2 separate regions of the Homo sapiens genome follow, and region 1 is linked to region 2. The links are contacts of gene promoters, found by promoter capture Hi-C in human tissues and cell types (Jung and others, 2019). All regions are on one chromosome and are shown on one strand. Each heading gives the region's core, a stretch centred on a gene start or on the middle of the fragment in contact. The rest is flanking DNA. Distances are from core to core; before and after follow the strand shown. Region 1 holds the start of GIPC3 (GIPC PDZ domain containing family member 3). Region 2 holds the start of NCLN (nicalin).

Region 1 (2,700 bases), core at 97-2,596, 400 kb after region 2:
AAATGCTGAAGAGAAGCTGGGCACAGTGGCTCACATCTGTAATCCTAGCACTTTGGGAGGCCAAGGCTGAAGGATGGCCTGAACCTCCTGGTCTTGAGTTTGAGACCAGCCTGGGCAACACAGTGAGATCCCAACTGTACAAAAAATTAATCATGTTTCTAAATTAAATTTTAAAAAACTGAATGCGGCCGGGTGCGGTGGTTCACGCCTGTAATCCCAGCACTTTGGGAGGCCAAGGCAGGTGGATCACCTGAGGTCAGGGGTTCGAGACAAGCCTGACCAACATGGTGAAACCCTGTCTCTACTAAAAAATACAAAAATTAGCCAGGCATGGTGGTGTGCGCCTATAATCCCAGCTACTAGGGGGGCTGAGGCAGGAGAATCGCTTGAACCCAGGAGGTGGAGGTTGCAGTGAGCCGAGATCACGCCATTGCACTCCAGCCTGGGCGACAGAGCTAGACTCCGTCTCCAAAATCAAACAAACAAACCAAAGGCTGGGCGTGGTGGCTCATGCCTGTAATCCCAGCTTTTTTGGAGGCTAAGGTGGGTGGATTCCTGAGGTCAGGAGTTCAAGACCATCCTGGCCAACATGGTGAAACCTCATCTCTATTAAAAATACAAAAAAATTAGCCGGGCATGGTGGTATATGCCTGTAATCCCAGCTACTGGGGAGGCCGAGGCATGAGAATTGCTTGAACCTGGTGGGCAGAGGTTGCAGTGAGCTGAGATCGTGCCACTGAACTCCAAACTGGGTGACAGAGCGAGACTCCAGCTCAAAATAAATAAATAAATAAAAATAATAAAATAAAATAAAACAATGACCTCGCCTAGCAGAGGGTGAGTGCTCCAGCACCCTCAGCTGTCCCTGTCCTTTTTTTTTTTTTTTTTTTTTTTTTTGCGACGGAGTCTCGCTTTGTTGCCCAGGCTGGAGTGTAATGGCGCCATCTCAGCTCACTGCCACCTCCGCCTCCCGGGTTCAAGAGATCTCAGCCTCCCGAGTAGCTGGGATTACAGGCGCCCGCCACCACGTCCGGCTGATTTTTGTATTTTTGGTAGAGACGGGGTTTCACCATGTTGGCCAGGCTAGTCTTGAACTCCTGACCTCAGGTCATCTGCCCGCTTCGGCCTCCCAAAGTGCTGGAATTACAGACGTGAGCCACCGCTCCAGGCCTGTCCCTGTCCTTATTTGTGGTCCCTGTTCTTCCAGGGTCCTGAGCTCAGGCCCCCCCGGACTGCGGGTATCCCCGGGGAGGGCACAGCTGGCCCTGGCAGGGCCCGGACACCTGGGGCCCGACCCACCCCTGCGCACCCCGCGGTGTCGCCTTCCCGGGAGGCTCGGGTTCCCAGATCCCCTTACCCGGGCGTCTCGGCTGTCGCGCCCTGGGCCGGGGGAGGGGAGGCTGCAGGAAGCGGCGGATCCGGCGGCGGCGGCGAGGGCCCGGGTGGGTGGCCGAACTTCTCCCGCCATGGAGGGAGCAGCGGCCCGGGAGGCCCGGGGGACCGAGACCCCGCGCGCGTCTGCGCCCCCGCCCGCGCCCTCGGAGCCCCCGGCCGCGCCCCGCGCCCGCCCGCGCCTCGTCTTCCGCACGCAGCTGGCGCACGGGAGCCCCACGGGCAAGATCGAGGGCTTCACCAACGTCCGCGAGCTGTACGCCAAGATCGCCGAAGCCTTCGGGATCGCGCCCACCGAGGTAAGGAGCCCGGACACCGGCGCCCAAGACCACCCGCCTGATGGGGTGAGGGGTAGGGAGCTTGGACCCTGGACGGGAGACCCCAGATCCCCGGATCCCAGACGTCGGGGTGGCCGCCTAATCGCCGGATCTCAGAGACCCAGCCCTCAGATCCCGGGGTGCCACACTCCCAGGGGCCCCCTTTGCACGCTCTGCGCAAAAGATGGGCAGGTCTTAGGACTAGCGGACCCCTAGATATTCCAGAAAATCCTCTGCGCAGACCTAGCTTGGAGCGGACCCCAGCCCTCGGGGAAGCGCCTCTGTGCTTCCTGGGCGTAGCTGGGGTCTGGGGTTCCAGATGGCCCCCTTAGGGATGGGAAGTTTGAGGCCGCCGTGGGGTTGGGGGGTTCCTGGGCGTTTTTCCAATCCGGGTTCGTTTGGTTTGCAGCCCCCAGGGGGCGCCAGCAGATTAAACCTGGAGGTCTGGGGGCTGGAGGTCCCGGGGTATGGAGAGGGGTCTCCACCTGCTGGAAGTCTCCTTCTCCCTCCTCTCTCTGTTCTGGGGGTCCCACGCCCTGCCCTTTCCCATGGGCTGGGATCCTGGTCGCTGGGGGCAGGGGCCTGCGCAGACAGGGTGGCTGCGTGGGGGGATGCATGCCCTGGCTAACTCTAGGCTCCTTCTCCCCCGGGAAGATTTTATTCTGCACCCTCAACAGCCACAAAGTGGACATGCAGAAGCTCCTGGGGGGTCAGATAGGCCTGGAGGACTTCATCTTTGCCCACGTGCGAGGCGAGACCAAGGAGGTGGAGGTCACTAAGACAGAGGATGCTCTGGGGCTGACCATCACGGACAACGGGGCTGGCTACGCCTTCATCAAGGTGCCCGGGAGGGGGTGGGCGGGTGGCTTCCTGGGGTCCAGCAACTGCCCCCCCCACTCTGGGTCGACGTGGGTTCTGCGGATTGGAGGCGGGTGGCTGGGGTTGCCCTGCCAGCGACGCTGGATCCCTGCAGAGAATCAAGGAAGGCAGT
Region 2 (2,700 bases), core at 198-2,697:
CTCCTCCTTTGGACTTCGAGCTCCGTGTCGGTGGATAGTGTGGCTTTGCTGGGGTCCCGGCTGTGTCCCCAGCACCCACCACACGGCTGGCACACAGTAGGTGCTCAGTGACCCAGCAGCACACTCAGAAACTCCCTTTCTAGCCGGGCGCGGTAGCTCACGCCTGTAATTTACAGCTACTCAGGAGGCTGAGACACAGGAATTGCTTGAACCCAGGAGGTGGAGGTTGCGGTGAGCTGAGATCAAGCCACTGCACTCCAGCCTAGGTGACAGAGACTACATCTCAAAAACAAACAAACAAACAAACAAACAAACAGAATTCTCACATGCTGCTGGCAGGGAGAGTGCTTGATTCTTTATCATTATATCTGAGGAAACTGAGACTCTGAGAGGTGAAGCGACTTGCCCAAAGCCACACAGCTGGGAAATGGAGGAGTTGGGATTTGAGCCCAGGCTCTTAATCGGCACCAATGCCACTTCTCACTTGGGACAGAAAGGAAGCCCTGACTCCTTAGGCAGCTGTACGGAGCCTGGGATGATAACGTGCTGAGAGCCAGGGCTACTGTCTGCTGCACCCTGGGGCTCAGTCTCCCCATCTGTACAAAGGGACGTTCCTTAGGTACCTCCAGCCCTGAGACACTGGGTTTTAACTTTAAATTTCTGATGAACAACAAATACTTTTTTAGTATAAGTATGCCCCAAATATGAATAAAGATAAATATAAATACCTGCCACCGACCCCTGCACAAACCGCAGGTTCCAGACTACAAGTCCCACAACCCACTGCGGCCTCCCTTAGGAACTGACTATCATGACTTTCTATTTTTCATTCATTCATTCAAAAATGGTATAGGCCACCCGCCGTGCGCCAGGTCTTGTGCTAGATGCCGGGGATACATCATATGCACAAAACAGACAAAAGTTTTTGCCTTCGTGGAGTTTGACATCTACATCCTCGGGAGTTTTAAGTGATTTTTGTTTTTCTCAGCAATTTCTGCCAGGACGACTACAGTTCCCGTGACCCTTTGTGTGTTTGACGGGACTACAACTCCCAGAAGACCTAGCGCGCCAGGCAGGCACTTCCTTTTCTCTTTATCCCCAACTTCCTTCCAGGTCGCAAGGTCACGTCCTGTCCCCACCTTTCGCCCCTCACCCTAGCTCCCCCAACGCCAAAGACAAGGTTAAGAAAGTGATATCGCGAAATAGTTTTTTAAAGCATTTTATTGCATTTTATGACTTGGAGTTTATGTGAAACCTCAACGGTATTAGCCGAACAGCCTGCCGCACCTTCCGGGAGTTCCAGAGTGGGCCTACAACTCCCACAGGGCTCCGCGAGCGCCGGACGGACGGACTACAATTCCCGACAGGCAGCGCGGCTGGCGGGGCGGTTCGCCGCGGTGCCCACAGGACCTCAGGGCGAGTGCGGGCTGCCCCGCGCGGCGCCCGCAGGACCCCGGCGGCTACCCATGCCGAGGTGAGTCCGCGGGAGCCGCCGCCGCCGCCGTCCCGTCCCAGCTGCCGCCCCGCGCGGCCCCGCCGCCGGCCAGGATGCTGGAGGAAGCGGGCGAGGTGCTGGAGAACATGCTGAAGGCGTCTTGTCTGCCGCTCGGCTTCATCGTCTTCCTGCCCGCTGTGCTGCTGCTGGTGGCGCCGCCGCTGCCTGCCGCCGACGCCGCGCACGAGTTCACCGTGTACCGCATGCAGCAGTACGACCTGCAGGGCCAGCCCTACGGTGCGTGTCCCCGGCCCACCCTCGGGGCTCCCCGGGCTCCCCGGCCACGCCACTCCGGCCCGGCGATCCCCAGGCCGATCCCTAGCTCCGGCCTGGGCTGCCCGACCCATGCTCAGGCCCCAGGCGAGGCAGAGCCCTGCCGCCCTGGACCCCCGGGCGCCCTGGAATCCCTGCTCTCCTTGCCTAGCGCCCAGGGACCCCCCGCGCTCGCTCCCACAGCCCCCGGCCCCTGCCTAGGTCTCCCTGCCCCGGAACCCATGGCCGGGCCAAGCGTCCCGCGTCCCTGGAGCCCTAAGTCCCCTCTCTCCTGTCCCCAGCTGGGCCGGCGTCTGCCTGCCTTGCCGAGTTTCTCCCTCCTGGGCCCCCTCCGCCCCTTAGGCTTCCTGGTCCGGGCTCACTTGAGCAGACGCTCCCGTCCTGACCTCCAGCTCCCAGGGTCCTGTTCTGGAGACCATCTGGTTGGTCTCTGGATTCACTGGGTCACGTCCGTGTTCCCAGGCCTCTCGCCTTTAGCTGACTGCGTTTGGAGTTAAAGGTCCCTGCACTGATTTCTGCCAGGCTGAGCCACCCGACGCGGTGGTCCAGCATTCCCCACCCCCTCCCACGGCCCTGGGTGCCAAGTGCATTTTGTCCAGTGCCCAAATTCAACTCCCCTGAATTTTCTCGCTCTAGTCACCGGCCCCCACGTCAAGGGCACATTTGTCCCCAGACCCCTGACGCTCTCTGGTCCCAGTTCGTGAGTCATGTTTCAGAATCTGCTAGCCCAGCTTCCCTGGTCTCCTCCCACGTCCCCAGTTCAGTCCACTCGCCTGGGGTTCCCTTTGACCCCCTTTCTGTCCCGCCTTTGATGCATACCCACGCCCTCAGCTCAGCCTCCTCACACCCACTTCCCAGAACCCCACTTGTTCCATCTTTCCAGGATTTCCTCTTCCCTTTCCAAATTCGCACCCCCTTGCCCTTGCATTCTG

The links. The method cuts DNA at HindIII sites, captures the fragments that hold promoters and counts their contacts. A contact is called where the count stands out against the background at its distance.
Region 1: a contact is called between the fragment with the promoter of GIPC3 here and the fragment with the promoter of NCLN in region 2, in 1 of the 25 tissues and cell types used here (mesenchymal stem cells).

What each region holds. Positions count from the first base shown.
Region 1 is chr19:3,584,132-3,586,831 of GRCh38, forward strand. GIPC3 (GIPC PDZ domain containing family member 3) reads left to right here and starts at 1,347. Exons shown (of 6, transcript NM_133261.3): 1 at 1,347-1,691; 2 at 2,364-2,549; 3 at 2,683-2,700. The coding sequence starts at 1,467. The HindIII fragment of the contact is 10,668 bases long and covers 1-2,700 here.
Region 2 is chr19:3,184,483-3,187,182 of GRCh38, forward strand. NCLN (nicalin) reads left to right here and starts at 1,448. Exons shown (of 15, transcript NM_020170.4): 1 at 1,448-1,732. The coding sequence starts at 1,549. RefSeq lists enhancers at 526-1,408, 715-854 and a silencer at 1,365-1,934. The HindIII fragment of the contact is 11,170 bases long and covers 1-2,700 here.